3 separate regions of the Homo sapiens genome follow, and regions 1 and 2 are each linked to region 3. Evidence: promoter capture Hi-C in human tissues and cell types (Jung and others, 2019). All regions are on one chromosome and are shown on one strand. The core of a region is centred on a gene start or on the middle of the fragment in contact, and the rest is flanking DNA. Distances in the headings are between cores, read along the strand shown. Region 1 overlaps RALGAPB (Ral GTPase activating protein non-catalytic subunit beta). Region 2 overlaps RALGAPB (Ral GTPase activating protein non-catalytic subunit beta). Region 3 holds the start of ADIG (adipogenin).

Evidence for each region. Contacts are between HindIII fragments. The study calls those that stand out against the background at their distance.
Region 1: a fragment that was not itself captured here is called in contact with the fragment with the promoter of ADIG in region 3 in 5 of the 25 tissues and cell types used here (H1 embryonic stem cells, bladder, heart right ventricle and 2 more).
Region 2: a contact is called between a fragment that was not itself captured here and the fragment with the promoter of ADIG in region 3, in 2 of the 25 tissues and cell types used here (mesendoderm cells and thymus).

What each region holds. Positions count from the first base shown.
Region 1 is chr20:38,498,087-38,501,156 of GRCh38, forward strand. RALGAPB (Ral GTPase activating protein non-catalytic subunit beta) reads left to right here. Exons shown (of 30, transcript NM_020336.4): 5 at 1,361-1,547. Among named protein-coding and RNA genes, the nearest start is that of MIR548O2, 17 kb to the right of the region's middle. The HindIII fragment of the contact is 5,600 bases long and covers 1-3,070 here.
Region 2 is chr20:38,475,620-38,478,601 of GRCh38, forward strand. All of the region lies in intron 1 of RALGAPB (Ral GTPase activating protein non-catalytic subunit beta), which reads left to right. Among named protein-coding and RNA genes, the nearest start is that of RALGAPB, 4.3 kb to the left of the region's middle. The HindIII fragment of the contact is 5,940 bases long and covers 1-2,982 here.
Region 3 is chr20:38,579,845-38,582,679 of GRCh38, forward strand. ADIG (adipogenin) reads left to right here and starts at 1,353. Exons shown (of 3, transcript NM_001393816.1): 1 at 1,353-1,530. The coding sequence starts at 1,407. The HindIII fragment of the contact is 13,860 bases long and covers 1-2,835 here.

The DNA of each region.
Region 1 (3,070 bases), core at 66-2,565, 82 kb before region 3:
AAAAGAAACAATTAACCAATTAAATTAGAGCCTATAGATAATATATTACAAAGTAGTTATCAAAGTAGAGTCTGAAAACTTGGTAGTGACAAGATATTTTACTCAGCAAATGAAACCTCCAAAGTCTTTTAACTGTTCTATTTGGAAGTGTGCCAGTTTGCTATTCATTAGCTAGCCATTAAATGCCTCCAGTTTTATAAGACTTTACAGTGTATTTCAGAATCCCTGCTTTGTATATAGCACAGTGTATATAAACTATAAGTTGATCATCTAGTTCCAAGTTCTCTTGTTGCTTATTCATTGGTGTACTCTGTTGACTAACACATGTGAGTGTGCTTGTGTTCTCACACAGATGCAGTATTCAGGGAAATATCTAAAAGGAAGCATGGAATTTCAGTGTGGGAAGGGATGCAATGATAGTAATACTCTGTCTGGTATTGACAATAGCTGGACAGTCATTGATTCATCACCTCTCTGCTACTTACTCCCCATGCCAGGGGTCTCAACAGCATGAGGCAGACAATTCATCCCCCTCCTGGGCTCTTTGTTGTTGAAACTTTGGTTTTGCTCATTTGAAACACACATTCTTACAACTTTTCCTGTGAGTCCCAACTTTGCCTTCTGGAGCTATGCGGTGTAAAGACCACTGCTGTTTTTCCACCTGGTTCCAGGGCTTAGAACAGGGGAACAGCCCCATTTTCATGGTTAAGGCTCTGTCCTTCCCAACACCAGTCCTTTTGCTCCATTATTTGTCTCTCTGTCTCTCTCCCTTGAAGGGTGGCTTTCAAATACTTGGAGCATTGTATGGCAAAGTTTGGAGGTAAAAAGACATGGGTGTTTGTTGTGATTCCTTCACTTACTGGCTGCATGAAGTCGGAGAAGTTACTTAAACTTTCTGAATCTAAGTTTTCTCATCTTCAAAATGGGTATAATTAGCAGTTGGTATTAGGTATTACAGATACCTACCCTGCAGAATTAATGTGAGGATTATATGAGGTCATTTGTATGAACTATTTGGCATAGAAACTGACTCATAGTAGTCAGTCATCATAGGCAGTCATCCTTTTCCTTCTCCCCTGTGTCCCTCTGTCCCCCTTGCTGGAGGATTAAGGCCTTCAATAAGAACTGAACAGGGCAACTTGAAATCTTTCAAAGTAAAAATTTTTTGATGTGTCTGTGATTTTGGGTACAGGAACTCCTAAGAATTGCTTCTCATTTTTACTATTAAATGATTATTTGAAAGTCAAAACTTAATATTGCACTTATTTTAATTTTTTGACCAGTTCTCCCAAATCAGTGTCTTAAAGATTCTGCTTTAAAAATAAGTTTGCCAAAGATGTGTTTTCTTTTTGTTGGTAAGGTGGCATTGCTGAGAATCTAGCAGAGAAGTTGATTGGTGTTCTCTTTGAGGTGTGGTTACTAGCTTGTACTCGGTGCTTCCCAACACCTCCTTATTGGAAAACAGCCAAGGAGATGGTGGCTAACTGGAGGCATCACCCAGCAGTGGTGGAGCAGTGGAGCAAGGTCATTTGTGCACTCACTTCCAGGTAGGTTATTGTCATTGCCCTGCCTTCCTTCACCTGTCTGACCTTAGGCAGCTTTCTGGCATTCATGGAATACATTATAACAAAGGCTGGGTCTGTTATTACTGTACTTTAGATACAGAATTGAGCCACTTTTTAAATATAGATATAACAGTTTGGCTAGTGCCTGTTTAAAACATTTCAGAATAATCAAGTATTCTTGAGAAACAGATAAATTTTATACCCTACTTCCCCCACAAAAAAATTCCACTCTTATTTTGATCATTAAAATATGCATGATCATTAAAATATGCCTAATCATTATTTTAAAGAAACAAACCATAGAAAGATATAATAGAAAAGTTCTCCTGAAATCCTACCATGTATATTTATATATAATTTTACAGGAATGGGACCATATTATACATGCTACTTTATAACCAAAGTAGGCAGTTTTTTTATAATAATAATTTTACCTTTTTGCCATTTATATTTAATACCATCGCTGTTTTATAAGTACACTCTTAGGTTCATTTTTTTCAGACTTATTTTTTCATTTCAATCGTGATTTTAATATGCAAGCATACCTTGTTTTATTGCACTTGACTGTATTGAGCTTCACGGATACCATGTTTTTTTTTTTTTCCAAATTGAAGGGTTGTGGCAACCCTGCATCAAGCGAGTCTGTCGGGTGCCATTTTTCCAACAGCATATGCTCACTTTGTGCCTCTGTCATATGTTGGTAATTCTTGCGTATTTCAAACTTTTACTGTTATGGTGACCTGTGATCAGTGATCTTTAATATTACCATTGTAATTGTTTTAGAGTGCCACGTACTACACCTATATAAAATGGTGAACTTAACTGATCAATGTTGTTTGTGTTCTGACAGCTCCACTGACCAGCTGTTTTCCGTCTCTTTCCCACTCTTGAGACACAATGATACTGAAATTAGGCCAATTAGTAACTCTATAATGGCCTCAAAGTGGTCGAGTGAAAGGAATAGTTGGATGTCTCTCACTTTAAATCAAAAGCTAGAAATGATTAAGTTTAATTAGGAAGGTGTGTTGAAAGCCAAAACAGGCTGAAAGCTAGGCCTCTTGCACCAAATGGTTAGCCAAGGTGTGAATGCAAAGGTAAAGTTCTTGAAGGAAATTAAACATGCTACACCACTGAACACAGGAATGATAAGAAAGCAAAACAGGCTTATTTATGATATGGAGAAAGTTTGAGTGGGCTAGATAGGAGATCAAACCAGTCACAACATTTTCTTAAGCCAAAGCGTGATCCAGAGCAAGGCCTAACTGTCTTCAGTTCTATGAAGGCTGCGAGAGGTGAGGAAGCTGTAGAAGAAAGCTTAGGAAGAGGCCGAGGTTGGTTCATGAGGTTTAAGGAAAGAAGCCATGTCTATAACGTGAAAGTGCAAGCTGAAGCAGCAAGTGTGATGGAGAAGCTGCAGCAAGTGATCCAGATGATCTAGCTAAGATCATTGACGAAGGTGGCCTCACTAAACAACAGATTTTCAGTGTGCATTAAACAGTCTTGTA
Region 2 (2,982 bases), core at 103-2,602, 100 kb before region 3:
TTTTTTTTTTTTTGAGATGCAGTCTCGCTCTGTCCCCCAGGCTGGAGTGTAGTGGCGCAATCTCAGCTCACTACAACCTCCGCCTCCTGGGTTCAAACGATTCTCCTGCCTCAGCCTCCTGAGTAGCTGGGACTACAGGCACCCACCACCACACCTGGCTAATTTTTTTGTATTTTTAGTTGAGAGGGGGTTTCGCCATGTTGGCCAGGTTCATGTCGAACTGCTGACCTTAAGTGATCTGCCTGCCTAGTCCTCCCAAAGTGCTGGGATTACAGGCATTAGCCACCGTCCCCAGCCCATAAAATATTCTTTATAAGGATTGTTATAGAAAAATTTTCTTGGTTCCGTTTTGTATTATTTGGTCAGTTTTTAGGCTTAGCACTAATAGAAACTGATGGGACAACTTATGTTAAATTCAGATACTCAAGAAACTTGTCCTTGTGTGTCTGATCAGATAGGGACACAGTATCCAGTTCTTGCTTTAGCACATGGAAGAAACTCAATCTTTAAGGCTGAAGGTTTAAGTCTGTAGTTGTGCCCCAAAGTAAAGGTGAAAAATTCCACATGCTCAGAGAACAAAAGTGACTCTAATCATGATAGCTTGGGACCTAGAAATGGATTCTGTTTAATACGAGGTACTCATCAGTGTTAGCAGGTGTGTTTCCTGACATGTGCAAAGACTTTTTGGGCAGAATAGTTGATTTTCTTTGGTGCGAGATGATTTAAGTTTTAAAATTAAGGTGCATGGAGTTTCATTCTAACTTTTTATAGATGCGGAAAGTAACTTGGTCAAGGCTACATGGTTAGCTTCTAGCACCTCCAGGACTAGAAAGCAGGCCTCCTTCCTCTGGACGGTGTCCCCTTTCGCCCCCGACCCCTTCCCCATGAGAAAGGTTGTCTTGTGTATTGTTGTGTTGTGTTTGCCTGTCTGTGTGTGCATGGGATAGGGAAGGGGAGAGAGTGATCTGCTATGTTTGAGAAACTCAATTAGATATCTAGAGGCCCCTCGACTTATGATGGGATTACTTCCCAATAAACCTATCAAAGTTGAGAAGATCGTAAGCCAAAAATGCATTTAATATACCTACTGAACAGAATAGCTTAGCCTCATCTACCTTAAACATGCTCAGAACATTTACATTAGCGTACAGTTGAGCAAAATTGTCTAGCACAAAGCCTATTTTATAATAAAGTGTTGAATATTTCATGTAATTGATTGAATATTGTACTGAAAGTGAAAAACAATGGTTATGTGGATAATCAGAGTACGGTTTTTACTGAACGCATATCACTTTCACACCCTGGTACAGTTGAAAATAATAAGTTGAGGATAGTGAGTACTTGGTGTGTGAAATGCACTTAGCTATATAAACTGGGAATACAAAGATAAATAAGACACGGCCCCTGTCCTCAAGGAGTCTAATCAAAGTTATAATAAAATAATAGTGTAGTATCTGAAGCAGCTCTGTCAAATAGAATTTTCTGCAATCATGGAACTAAATCTTACTTGCTCTAATATGGTAGCCACTGGCCACATGTGACTTGTAAGCATTTAAAATGACTAGTGTAACCAAGGAAGTGATGTTTGACTCAAATAGTTTAAACTTAAAACTATTAAAATTAAAAGTTTTTAAAATTTAAATAGTTACATGAAATAGCTGCTGTATTGGACAGAGGTCTGTTTTATGCCTCAGAGAAGGTCTCAGGCATAAAAGATGAGAACTGTGGTGGTGCTGGTAGGGGGCAGACAGGGTATTCAAACGTTCTTTGGGTAGCTTACCAAAAACTACCATTTTCCATGTTTTGGGAGAGATGCAGGCAGAACCTGTCTTTGTTTCCTGTAATTCAGGTGTTTGATAGGATCTCTAATAGCATCTGGTACATAGGTGAATACCTTCCTTTTTTGCCAGCTTTATTGATGTTTGCCTTATGGGGTCAATGGGACTGCAACAGCAATATGAATCATGAGGTTATATGGATGAATTTGGTGCACCTTAAAAAAAGCACAGTTTATTTATTTGCTCAGTGTTTTAGCACCCTGTATCCTATTTTTCCCAAGAGAAATAGGCATGTCTTATAATGTGTACCTTCCATTGGTACATTTCAAAGTATGTCAACTTAGGTTGCTTTATTTGATCCTTCTCCCAGGTCACTCTAGATAGGCACTGCAGGTATTCTCCCTGTTTTACAGATGAGGAAACTATGACAAAGAAATGCCAGGTCACCGAGTGCGGTGGCTGACTTGTAAACCTAACACTTTGGGAGGCCGAGGTGGGAGGATTGCTTGAGCCCAGGAGTTTGAGGCCAGCCTGGGCAGCATAATGAGACTTTGTCTCTATAAAAATTTTTCTAAAAATTAGCGGCGCATGGTGACACACACCTGTGGTCTGTTACTTGGGAGGCTGAGTGGGAGGATTACTTAAGCCTGGGAGGCAGAGGCTGCTGTGAGCCGAGATCGTGCCACTGCACTGTAGCCTGGGCGACAGAGTGAGACCTTGTCTCAAAAAGAGAAATGCCAGTTGACTTATCCAAAGTCATATGGTGAGGTATGGAGTCAGGACAAAGGGAAGTAGCATTGCACTTTGAGGCAAGAGGTGGAGTTTCTTGTCCCAGATCCGCTGTTACTTGATGTGATCCTGAGCAAGTCATAGCTTTACTTTGTTTCCTTACCTAGTGGTTAGTGACGTCTGTCTTACCTAACCTTCTAGGGTTGTTATTGGAATAAAATGAAGTAACATGTAAAAGCTCTTTGAAAATGATAAATTATGCAAAGGTACAATGTGCTCAAGCAAGACCTCAAGTAGTTTTTCTTTTTTTTTGAGACGGAGTCTCGCTCTGTCACCCAGGCTAGAGTGCAGTGGCGTGATCTCAGCTCACTGCAACCTTCGCCTCCCAGGTTCAAGCTATTCTCCTGCCTCTGCCTCCTGAGTAGCTGGGATTACAGGCAGCCGCCACCACACCCGGCTAATTTTTTTATTTTTA
Region 3 (2,835 bases), core at 103-2,602:
TTTCCTGTTGCTGGCCCCATGCGCCCTTCTCCTTGAATCGGTGTCTTTTCCTATAAGGGGGTTTTCTACTCCATGTTTTTCCCTAAGTTTACCACCCCCTTCCTGCAGCTGCTCCCCCGCCTGGACCTGGTTTGCCTTTTCAACAGGTGCTTTTAAGTCATGAGATGCTGTAGTCTCAAAATCAAGCCTGCATCAGAATCATTCTAGTTGCTTATCAGTGTGTTGAATCCCAAGCCACACCCCCACCCCCAAGAGGTCTGAGGAGACGAAGGTGAGCCTGGGAATTGGCATGTTTAATAAATACACTCCAGCACCCACCCACCTGCTGGCAGTCACAGGCAGGTGGTCCAAGGGTCCTCTTGGAGAATACCATGCAGCAGCCACTCCAGTGGGAAGCCCGAAGCCTCCTTTCTGCCATGGTCTGGCACATGGAGGTTTACTGAATACTTGATGAGTGAACGGATGACAGATAGGAGAAGATGAGGATGACATGTGGAAGTGTTCTGGCCACTCAGGAGATAAAGGAACAAGATTCAAGTCGTTAGAAGCCCCTCACTGAAAACCCTAATAAGGAGAGGCACAAGCTTTCAGATTAAGTAATAATCATTTATAGTCATTTAATCTAGTAATAATTAGAATAATCTACTATGTGTTAGATTTTAAAAGTTTTCAGTGGCAGCCCAGTGACCAATCCAGCCTGGCAGACGTTTTGTTTAGCCAACAGTGCTTTGACAAGGTCTGATCCGACATTTTAAACTTGGGAGATTTCACAGAAATCCAGACTTTTTGCCTGTCTTGGGAAAGTTAGGAGTCCTGCAATAATGGACCTGCATTTCACTTGTAGCAGTTATTGGTTGGAGCTGCCATCACTGCATGCTTAGGATGCAGTAAGCTGCATCCAGTTTGCCGCAGTCCCCAGCACCCCCACCAAGTGTGGACGTGGGCACCCACAGCTGGTATTACAGGACCTGGGGACCCAGCTGGCTCCTGGAGGGGGTCTGTGACTTCAGATATATGAACACCGATCCTGGGGGTAATTTTTGTCCCATCTATTTTTCTAACTTAACAGAATTATCTCCATCTTACAAGAAAAAGGGTCAGAGGGGTGTCATGAACCCAATAGCTACTGGACTGAGATTCAAGCCCAGGCCTGCCTGGAAACCTGGGCTTTTTAATTCTCAGCCAGACTGTCTGTCTCACTGCCTCACTTCCCACCCTTTCATCCAGAACAGCTCTCCCTCAAAGTGTCCCCTGCATGCTTTGCCTGAAGTACACTGTGACTTCTTTGTTATGTCACAGCTTAGTCACAGTTGGGCTGAGAGCAGAGCATGGCCCAGCCTGCCAGGTCCCATGGGGCAGCCCTGCCAGCCCAGCCCAGGCTGGCCCAGCTTAGCCACACATGCGCCATGAAGTACCCTTTGATGCCGCTGGTGAACGACCTCACATTTTCTTTCCTGGTTTTCTGGTTCTGCCTCCCTGTGGGTTTGCTGTTGTTATTGATCATCTGGCTACGCTTCTTACTTAGCCAAGGTGAGCTTCTTACCCCGTCCAGGCAGGACCCTAATCCTGGAGCTAGGCAGGGGGCCAAATAGGCCAGTGTGTCCTGAAACAACTGCAGAAGGGGCTTCCTTCAGTCATTTTAAGTGCTCGCTTAGATACAAGCAGTCAACTCTTAAGTGGAAAGGATTGGTTTGGTTGTTTAGGGTTTCTTAACCTAGAGTTCGAGAGTGAGTCCTAGAGTTTGAACCTAGAGTTCGAGAGTGAGTCCTAGAGTTTGAACCTAGAGTTTGAGAGTGAGTCCTAGAGTTTGAACCTAGAGTTCGAGAGTGATCTTTTGAACAAATCAGAGGTTATCGCTCCAGGCAGATGAACTTCCAGGTGCCCCTTTCAGCTGGGGTGCAAGGCTCTGTGAGCAGAGCGTGGGCTGGATTTCAGCCCCGCTCACCCTCTCAATTGGCTGCTTTTGTGCAGTAAACAGCTTGCACGATGGGATACAGCAGCCTTAGGCATTTTTCAGATACCTGCAGACCACTCACTGTTTCTGCCTAAGCCATGTATCAGAAAGGATCTGGCTGCTTTGGGAGACAGGCTCATGGAAGCCAGCTGACATTCACCCTGACCTCAGCATGCCACCAAGAGGAGCAAGAGGTGGGACGAAGCTGGCTGTGGAGGAAGCTGGGGGTGGCTGGATCAGGATATGGCCTGGCTGTGTGGCAGGAGTGGGACTTCTGCTCCTCTGGCATGTGTCTCCCTGAGCATCCCCTTCAGCAAGAGGTCTCTTCCTGCTGGACACAGTGGCTCACACCTGTAATCCCAGCACTTTGGGAAGCCAAGGTGGCCAGGTTGCTTGAGCCCAGGAGTTTGAGACCAGGCTGGGCAACGTCCCTACAAGGAATACAAAAATTAGCCAGGTGTGGTGGCATGCATCTGTGGTCCCAGCTACTGAGGAGGCTGAGGTGGGAGAATTGCTTGAGCCTGGGAGGTCGAGGCTGCAGTGAGCCGAGATCACACCACTGTATTCCAGCAGACAGAGTGAGACCCTGTGTCAAAAAAAGGCCTCTTCGTGGGGACCACTTGACCTCCTACCTCCTGCTGCTGAGTGCCATGACCTTTGGCAAGCTAGGCAGGGAGGGCGCAGCACATGCCGCCAGCAATGGTCAGATGTTGTTGAGGCAGGGTGAGAAGTCCCTCCCCACACCCCTGCTAGCCCCATGATCTCAAATGTAGGGGCTTATAATTATGTAATTATTGGGAGTTCCTGGCAAGAACTTGGGATGTCCTTTTGTTTCTAGAAAGTGTTTATTTAAAGTATATTCTCCTCATAGTCCTAGGGTA